Regions from separate parts of the Homo sapiens genome. Here all the other regions are linked to region 3. The links are contacts of gene promoters, found by promoter capture Hi-C in human tissues and cell types (Jung and others, 2019). All regions are on one chromosome and are shown on one strand. The core of a region is centred on a gene start or on the middle of the fragment in contact, and the rest is flanking DNA. Distances in the headings are between cores, read along the strand shown. Region 1 overlaps MPHOSPH9 (M-phase phosphoprotein 9). Region 2 overlaps EIF2B1 (eukaryotic translation initiation factor 2B subunit alpha). Region 3 holds the start of DIABLO (diablo IAP-binding mitochondrial protein).

What was found. Contacts are between HindIII fragments. The study calls those that stand out against the background at their distance.
Region 1: a contact is called between a fragment that was not itself captured here and the fragment with the promoter of DIABLO in region 3, in 1 of the 25 tissues and cell types used here (IMR-90 fibroblasts).
Region 2: a contact is called between a fragment that was not itself captured here and the fragment with the promoter of DIABLO in region 3, in 1 of the 25 tissues and cell types used here (dorsolateral prefrontal cortex).

Annotation. Positions count from the first base shown.
Region 1 is chr12:123,225,454-123,228,488 of GRCh38, reverse strand. It overlaps MPHOSPH9 (M-phase phosphoprotein 9), which reads left to right. Exons shown (of 24, transcript NM_022782.4): 3 at 873-1,026. Among named protein-coding and RNA genes, the nearest start is that of MPHOSPH9, 6.2 kb to the left of the region's middle. The HindIII fragment of the contact is 6,998 bases long and covers 1-3,035 here.
Region 2 is chr12:123,621,493-123,624,617 of GRCh38, reverse strand. It overlaps EIF2B1 (eukaryotic translation initiation factor 2B subunit alpha), which reads left to right. Exons shown (of 9, transcript NM_001414.4): 8 at 1,857-1,982; 9 at 2,698-3,125. The coding sequence ends at 2,862. Among named protein-coding and RNA genes, the nearest start is that of SNORA9B, 6.3 kb to the right of the region's middle. RefSeq lists an enhancer at 2,042-3,125. The HindIII fragment of the contact is 7,939 bases long and covers 1-3,125 here.
Region 3 is chr12:122,224,670-122,227,852 of GRCh38, reverse strand. DIABLO (diablo IAP-binding mitochondrial protein) reads left to right here and starts at 1,801. Exons shown (of 6, transcript NM_001371333.1): 1 at 1,801-1,888. The coding sequence starts at 1,839. It overlaps LOC128125816, which reads left to right and starts at 1,289. Exons shown (of 1, transcript NM_001414998.1): 1 at 1,289-1,423. The coding sequence starts at 1,289. The coding sequence ends at 1,423. LOC101593348 (a long non-coding RNA gene) reads right to left here and starts at 1,411. Exons shown (of 1, transcript NR_103497.1): 1 at 1-1,411. RefSeq lists enhancers at 1-655, 656-1,487, 1,437-1,731, 1,785-2,024, 2,035-2,084 and 1 more and a silencer at 1,355-1,494. The HindIII fragment of the contact is 13,255 bases long and covers 1-3,183 here.

The sequences.
Region 1 (3,035 bases), core at 129-2,628, 1.0 Mb before region 3:
CTTGATCTCCTGACCTGGTGATCCGCCCGCCTTGGCCTCCCAAAGTGCTGGGATTACAGGCGTGAGCCACTGCGCCTGGCCTCCTTTGAATTTTTAGTAATATTTTCACTGGTCCTAACTATTATTTTATTGTTATTTTTATTTATTTTTTTAAACAAATTATTTGTGAAAGAAAGCAGGATATCAAGCAGTAAATAAATTAAAATGATCTTTTGGTGACTAGATTTTAAGTACATTTTAATGTCCTGAAATATATTGTGTGTTTATAAAACAAATCCGAAATAACTTACCTGAAGTTTGGAAAAGCAGTACTCCTGGAAAAACTCAGTGCTGTTTTACACACTGAGTAGGCTAAATAAGTCCTGAATATTTGCTGCTGATTTGCTTGGCACAACTTTTATGCAGAGATAGTGCAGAGATAAGCATCAGCTTATCGTACCAAATTAAGGGTGTCCAGTGAACAAGATTTGACTGTCATTTGGGGCAGTGGGGAAAGAATCCCCACTGCACAATGAAGGGCTGTTCTGAAAGTTGGGGGAAATAATCCTCTGGAATAGCTGAGATCAGAGAAGCTGGAAATTAATCTTATTGTTTAGCACAGACTTTTTCTATTTTCTGCCGATCCTTTGGAGTGTTCTCTCACTTCTGGAGAAGGTCTTCTTGTTGTGTTCTTAAAAAGAGTACAGTGCGGTCTTTTTACTGGCCGTTTCCTTTTGTGGAGCAACTTGTGATCAGATTTTGAACAAATGAGGTGCCATTAGAAGGATTAAATGTCAGTGGTTTTGTACTGCTCTGCTAAATCTTGAACTGCTGAATTATTCAACACTTTGATAGAATGAAGAAAACCATTTGAATTATTTATGTTTCAACAGAAGTAGTCCCCACCTTAGTACAAATGGGGTATCCTCTTTCTCAGGGAAGACCAGACCATCTGTAATTCAAGGTACAGTTGAAGTCCTAACTTCTTTAATGCAAGAGCTACAAAACAGTGGAAAGACTGATTCGGAACTTTGGAAAAACTGTGAGGTATCTAATTTTGTTTTATTTTTGGAATTTTAAAATAATTATGTTAAAACATACCTCTACTAAACTCTAAATTATTAGAAATTTATGTCCTGAAGAGCATGACACTTTTAAGTTAATGCTAAAGTGGTCAAGTATATTAATTTGGGAATGATATTGAATGAATGGGAAAAAGGTGATCAAAAGTATTTTTTAACAATATATTACTGATTAGACATACTAATTTGTATATTAAATATGAACTAAAACATTGTCTTGGTTCAGAGACCTGAGAATCCCAAAATTATTAAAATTGTTACTAATTGTAATGTTGTCAGTAACTTATATGGAATTGTCATCATTTTGAAAAACCTAAATCCACTTTGAAATATTTTCAATGTTCTAATTATAAATTGAAGCTTCTATTTAGTACCTTACCATATTCAGCTGTGATACATTGCATTATATTGTTTTCAGATCAGTGGTTCTTTCTTTGGTTCATAGGTTAAATTGTGATATAAAAATGTAACAGTTAAAAGAATACTTACATGGCCGAGCACAGTGGCTCACGCCTGTAATCCCAGCACTTTAGGCGGCCAAGGTGGGAGGTTTGGTTGAGGCCAGGAGTTTGAGACTAGCCTGGGCAAGATAGCGAGACCCTGTCTCTACAAATATAAATACATAAATAAATTAGCTGGTCATGGTGGCACGGTGTCTGTAGTCCTAGCTACTTGGGAGGCTGATGTGGGAGGATCACTTCAACCCAGGAAGTCAGGGTTGCAGTGAGCTATGATCACAGCACTACACTCCAGCCTGGGTGACAGACTGAGACCCTGTCTCTCTCTATATATAAAAAAAGAGAACCTGTAATCCCAGCACTTGAGGCAGAGGTGGATAGCTTGTGCCCAGAGTTTGTGACCTGCTTGGGCAACATAGCAAGACCCCCTCAGTAAAAAAAAAAAAAAGTATATATAAATTTTATTTCATAGGATAATGCTCAAGATAGACTTTCCTAAGGCTGGATTTGATAGTTTTTTATAGAAATGTTTAAACCATTATTAATTCTTAGAAAGCACTAGATCTTGTTTTAAACGTTAATTGTACTTTTAGAAGCATAATTTGTGTTATTTTTCAGAATGTAGAGTAAGCGAAATGAAAGATTACCTGGTTTAAGAATTCGATAGCAGCAACTGCTAAGTGTAATTATTTATATCCATTATCCATAATTATTGAAATTATAAAAAAGTATTATTATATGCTTAAAAAATTGAGTTTTCAGTTTTTATACTTTATGCTTGTTTGCATATAATAATCAGTATGCACTAACGTGAAAGACCTTTAAAAATGCCCATGCAAATGCAATTAAAAATGGAATGTTTTATTAAGTATATTAAATGCTTCCCTTAATGTATCTACTCATAAGCTTTTTGTTTATTTGTTTGTTTGTTTTTGAGACAGAGTCTTGCTCTGTTGCCCAGGCTGGAGTGCTATGGTGCGATCTCGGCTCACTGCCACCACTGCCTCCCAGGTTCAAGTGATTCTCCTGCCTCAGTCTCCCGAGTAGCTGAGATCACAGGCGAGCGCCACCATGCCCAGCTAATTCTTGTATTTTTAGTAGAGAAGGGGTTTAGCCATGTTGGCCAGGCTGGTCTCGAACTCCTGACCTCAGGTAATCTGCCTGATTTGGCTTCCCAAAGTGCTGGGATTACAGGCATGAGCCACCGTGGCTAGCCCTTATTAGCTTTTGATAACTGAATTAACATGCTTTAGGACAAAGGAGGCATTGCCACAATGTATTTTAACTTCTGGAAAATTTGTGTTTAACTAGAAATTGTTACTTTTGATAATTAGAAATCAACCTTTTTTTTTTGACATTAGCATCTTAAGTCAGAATCAGAATATATTCCCTGCCCCACCTCTCCTCTCCCCTCCCTCCCACCCCCTCCCTCCCTCCCTTCCTTTCTTCCTTCCTTCCTTTTCTTTGTTTCTTTTTCTCCTCTTTCATTCTCTCTCTTTTCTTTCTTTCTTTTTTT
Region 2 (3,125 bases), core at 615-3,114, 1.4 Mb before region 3:
TCCAGTTTCAGTCAAATCTTTTTTAGATTGATCTACATAAATGAAGACAATGTAATTTGGTCAGGTGTGATGCCTTATACCTGTAATCCTAGCAATTTGAGAGGCCAGGGTGGGAGGATCACTTGAGGCCTTGAGTTCAAGACCAGCCTGGGCAACATAGTGAAACCCTGTCTCTACAAAAAATTAGAAAAATTAGCTGGGCGTGGTGGTGCTTGCCTGTAGTTCCAGCTGCCCAGGAAGCTGAGGCAGGAGTATCACGTGAGCCCAGGAATTTGAGGTTGCAGTAAGTTATGATCACACTACTGCATTCCAGCCTGGGCGATGGTGAGACCCTGTCTCAGTAAAAAAAAAAAAAAAAAAAGTGTAATTTATATTTATACAAAATTGGCTTGAATTGGAATTGGGGTTTGTCTGGTTTTTGCTTTATTTATGTGTATATGTATGTTTTATTTATGCATATATATACACACACATAATATATATACACAAATATTTTTAAAATATTATTTATATATTTACATATAAAGTATGTATGTATAAAATACGTGTATTTATATATAAATATTATATATATTTTAAAATAGAGACACATTCACTCTGTTGCCCAGGCTGTAGTGTAGTACAGTGATCATAGCTTACTGCAGTCTTGAACTCCTAGCCTGAAGCAATCTTTCCACTTCCCAAAGTGCTAGGATTACAGGCATGAGCCACTGTGGCCGGCCTGTCATTTGTTTTCATTTTAATTGAGCACATTTGACCTCAATTTATTACAATCTCTCTCTCCATTATTTAATTTAGAAAAGCTTCATGAAAGCTTTTTTTAGTTAAAATATATGTAACATAAGGCCGGGCGTAGTAGCTCACGCCTATAATCCCAGCACTTTGGGAGGCTGAGGCAGGTAGATCATCTGAGGTCAGGAGTTCGAGACCAGCCTGGCCAACATGGTGAAACCCCATATCTACTAAAAATACAAAAAATTAGCTGGGCATGGTGGCGGGTGCCTGTAATCCCAGCTACTTGGCAGGCTGACGCAGGAGAATCGCTTGAACCTGGGAGGCGGAGGTCTGCAGGCAGAGTGTTGAGTCACATGGTAACTATATATTTAACTTTCAGAAACTAATGATTTTCCACAGCAGCTGCACTACTTTACATTCCCACTAGCAAAGCACAAAGGTTCCAATTTCTCTACATCCTTGCCAACACTTGTTTTTTTAAATTTTTTTATTTTTTGAGATGGAGTTTCACTCTTGCTGTCCAGGCTGGAGTGCAATGGCACAGTCTTGGCTCACTGCAACCTCCAGTGCCCGGGTTCAAGCGAGTCTCCTGCTTCAGCCTCCCTAGTAGCTGGGATTACAGGCACCCCCCATCCCACCATGCCCAGCTAATTTTTTGTATTTTTAGTAGAGATGGGGTTTCCCTATATTGGCCAGCTGGTCTCAAACTCCTGACCTCAGGTGATCCACCCACCTCGGCCTCCCAAAGTGCTGGGATTACAGGCGTGAGCCACCACATCCAGCCTCTAGTGGCTGTTTCTATATCCTTTGAGAAACATTTATTTTTTTGATTCCAAAGTCAGAATTAGATATATCTAATATATGTATTAGATATATGTATATCTATATTATATACATAACTTTCTATTGCTGTTTTTTAATTGTTCCTTTATTGTAATTGAGACGAGGTCTCACCGTGTTGCCTAGGCTGGTCCCAAACTCATGGGTTCAGGTGATCCACCCACCTCGGCCTCCCAAAATGCTGGAATACAGGCATGCACCACTGTGCCCGGCCCGCTTTTCTGTGGCTTCTACTTCAGATGCACTCTAGAGCTCATCCATTCCATTTTCTGCCTTCCCAGATTGGAACCAACCAGATGGCTGTGTGTGCCAAAGCACAGAACAAACCTTTCTATGTGGTTGCAGAAAGTTTCAAGTTTGTCCGGCTCTTTCCACTAAACCAGCAAGACGTCCCAGATAAGTTTAAGGCAAGAGTTTTACATATTTGAAGGGGTACTAAAGTCTAAACAGAAACCTTTGGAAATTGTAGTCCTAAGAATGTTCCAGTAATTTTTTCACTTCCTATTGCTACTTTCCCCAACACTTGGAATACAAAGATAAATTGGTGATTGGACTCACACATTTGTCCCTAGAACTTCAGTCTTTCAGTCTCTTTAAGTAGCACCATAGATGGGTGGAGAGGAAGCCCGAAGCTGGTGGGTAAGTCCCAGCTTTGGGCTTAACTGAGCTCAGCTCCCATCACCACAACTTACAAACTGTGCGAGTTGAGGCAAGTCCTTTCATTTCAACCTCTGAACCGGTTTTCTTGTCTGTAAAATGGCATAGCAGTATCTGACAGGGTCATGAGGATTCTAAGATAATCTTAGCACAGTCCCTGGCACGCTGCAAGCTCTCTATTGTGACTCTCGATCTTCCCTTGAGAGGTCTGGAGAAGTTAATCCGGCATGAGAATGAGGGGACATGGGATTTAAGTTTGTTACACTACAGCTCTCAGCCAGCACACTGCCATGATCTGGCTCATGGCCACAACTCTGCCCTCGTCTCTAGTGTCCTGCATAGCTTAGTTTCTCCCATTTTCAGAGAGCAGTCTCAGGAAGTAGCACACTGATCACTCACACCAAGGCCCTACCAGGTCAGAGCACTAAATATTCAGTGCCGACTAATGTGTACTTCTCTCCTCAGTATAAGGCAGACACTCTCAAGGTCGCGCAGACTGGACAAGACCTCAAAGAGGAGCATCCGTGGGTCGACTACACTGCCCCTTCCTTAATCACTCTGCTGTTTACAGACCTGGGCGTGCTGACACCCTCAGCAGTCAGCGATGAGCTCATCAAGCTCTATCTGTAACCTGTGAGCCCTTTCCTGCCAAGGTGCAGCTTACGTAGTTGAGGCAGGGTGAGTAGCTGCTTGACACCCCAGTGAGTCAGGCCAAAACTGAGATGTGTTTAATGAAGATTTATGGAGTAAGGACTTAAAATCATACATCTTGGAGAACCTTTCTTACTCATTTCAGTCCCATCTAAAAATGTGTCAGCTATTCTAAATCCCAACTTAAATTGTTCTTACGGTTTCTAGAAACTTTCCTTTTCAGTTTCCAGAAATACAAGTTA
Region 3 (3,183 bases), core at 552-3,051:
TTGCTTTAGTAGTTGGGCGGTCGCAAGTGAACACTGTCCAGTGGTTCTTCTGGTGCCCAGACTCGGAGGAGATGGGACTGCTCTCAATGTGTTTGTTAGAAACGAAACTGTTCGCACTATAACCCCATAACCCCTTACAATGTTCAGAAAAAAACAAGAAGGGGCTTGAAATACCCACTAGTGTGCCGCCTGCTCAGCCCATCTGGGTCTGTGAAACCACATCTGAGCCCTGTGGGCTGTGGTGGCGACACAGGCAGAGGGCGGGCAGGGTTGCCAGCGCCCCGCCTGGGCTAGGAACGCCTGTGCGCAGCTCCCTGAGAGCTCGGGGACCACGCGGAGGTTGTAATTGGTCTCTAGACCACACCTAGTTGTTGAGTGCCGCTGCTTGAAAATCTCAGTTCTGCCGAGATCGCAGAATACACACAAGCTACCTTTGGGCACCAGAGCAGACAGAACCGCGGAGCTTCAGGGTGGAAGATTCGTGGAAACTTTGCCAAGTAAGTGAGGTGGGGAGAGAAGGAAGCCAGTGCCTGACACTGTGGGGAGTGGCTGGGCAAAGCAGCATTGGAGGTGTTGTAGGGTTCCTACTGTCTGATGAGCTGGTGTGGGGTTCTTACTGTCTGATGTCGTCTCTGGTGGAAGTTAGCAGGGCTGGGGCAGATGCACAGAGCACGGTGGCGGGGGTGAGCCCAGGATCGGATTGATGCCCACCCACCACCTGGCACCCTGCAGTCCCAGCTGGCCAGAAGGCAAGCATGCTGGACCACAAAGCAAAGATCCTCCAGCTCTGCTGCTGGCAAGCCTTGGGGCCAGGGGACTCACAGAAGAGCAGGTTTGGGCCTGTGCCTTCCTCCTGCCCAAATGGGTCTCTCTCCCCTTCCCCTTCCAGCCAGGGCCGCAGCTGGGGCTGCAGCTTGAGTGACGGGAAAAGAAAGGTTTACTCCACCAGCGCATTAGCGGCACTCACAGCATTAAAAATGCAGGAGGTGGTGGGAGGAGCGGGCCAGGGAGGAAAACTCATGCAGCTGCGGGGCGCGGGGAAGAGCCGGGCTTCTGCCTCCTCAGCCCGGATCAGAGCCGAAGAACGAGGGCAGTTTGGGTTGAGAAGGATTCTCCAGTGTAACCGAGAAGCGAGCGTCCAGGAGGCTGTTGGGGAGGTCGGCACTGTGGGCTTCCTGGCCTTCGTTTGCTGTTTCGAGGGCCAGGACCTCGTGTGTTCCCGTCCGCCCCTCTGGGACGGCGCCAGCCCGGCAGGCCGCCGACCGTCCTGGGGCTCCCGCGCAGCGCGATGCCGGCCTCGTCCACCGTCCACGTGCTGCAGCTGCTGCGGGAGCTGCTCGCCTTCGTGCTCCTCAGCTACACGGTGCTCATCGGGGCGCTGCTGCTGGCCGGCTGGACCACTTACTTCCTGGTGCTGAAGTGACAGCGCCGTCGCCGCGCCCGGCCCCGCCTCCCGCCCGGCCCCGCCTCCCGCCCGGCCCCGCCTCCCTAACTCACCAGGAAATTCCCTTCAAGCCCTGGCCCGAACTGAGTCCCCGCCCACCCGCCAGCGTCACGGCGCCCGACTCAGCTCCGCGCCGGACCCACCTCCGCGCCCTCAGGCCCTGCATATGCCCCGCCCCGCGCGGAAGTTCCGGCGGTTGGTTGCCTTGCGCGGCCGTTACAGCCTTTGCCCTAAGCCTCGCCCCCTTTCCCCCTGCCTGCCCAATCCCGACTGCTTCCTTGGGTGGGGGCGTGGCTATGGGGCGAGGCGCTCTCAGGTGGAGGCCGTGCCCCGCTCCGCGCTCACGAAGCTGCGTCACTTCCGGCGTGTGCGTCTGGCGTCCGCGCGCTGCACAATGGCGGCTCTGAAGAGTTGGCTGTCGCGCAGCGTAACTTCATTCTTCAGGTACCGCTGCGGCCGCGTAGAGGGGACAGGACCAGAGGGAGGGACCGACGCGGACAGCGCTGTGGCCCGGCCCACGGCGCCCGCCTTCCTTACGCGCTCATCTCTCGTCCGCCCAGCTGGGTCGCGGCGTCTCGCTCCGGTCGGGAGGACTGAGGACAGCCCCGCCTCCGCCCCCTGGGTCAAGCCCGGCTTCCTTTTCAGTTCGTCCATCTTCTAGAAACGAGTCCCCGAGACCCCGGGCTGCCTTCTTGGGGCTGCTCCGCCTCCTGACCAGCCCTCGTCAGCCACTCGAAGTCCCTGAGGAGACGTGGAGAGGAGGAGGGACACGGCATGGGGGGAGTCCGGGAAGGGAGACGAGCGTCTGAAGACGTCCTCCCGAGGGCAGAAGGGGCCGGGGGAGCTGGCGCAGGGCTCTCTACCTAGCGCTGCAGGCTCCTGGGCGATTGTAGCGGGACCGTCACACACAACTGGCACCCAGGCCAGGGGTCCAGAGCTAAATTCTGCCTGCAGGAGCGGTTATTGTGGCATCCGTTTCTAAAAAGTTTAAAGGCAACATTTTATTTTATTTTAATTTTTTTGAGACAAGATCTGCCTCTGTCGCCCAGGCTGGAGTGCAGTGGCGAGATCTCAGCTCACTGCAACCTGTGCCTCCCGGCTTCAAGCGATTCTCAGCCTCAGCCTCCCGAGTAGCTGGGATTGCAGGCGCCCGCCACCACGCCCGGCTAATTTTTTTTTTTCTTTTTGTTTTGTTTGAGACTCAGTCTCGCTCTGTTGCCCAGGCTGAAGTGCAGTGGGGCGCTCTCGGCTCACTGCAACCTCTGCCTCCCAGGTTCAAGCGATTCTCCTGCCTCAGCCTCCCGAGTAGCTGGGATTACAGGAGCGTGCCACCACTCCGGGCTAATTTTTGTGTTTTAAGTAGAGATGGGGTTTCACCATGTTGGTCAGGCAGATTTCGAATTCCTGACCTCAAGTGATCCACCCGCCTCGGCCTTTATTTACTTATTTTTTTTTAATAGACACGGGGTCATGTTGCCAGCCATGTTGCCCAGGCTGGTCGTGAACTCCTGGGCTCAAGTGATCCTCCCGCCTTGCCCTTGGCCTTCCAAGTGCTAGGATTACAGGCGTGAGCCACCAACACCCTGCCTGAGGCAACATTTTAAACTTGGTGTATGTTGAAAATTTCAAAACCCCTCAGCTGTCCTGCATCCTCATTTAGGTTCCTGCTTGGCTCGAGTTTGAGTTTACAGCCCCTGCAAGTAAATCCAAGAGCCTGTTACAGATTGGCGGTCGTGCCT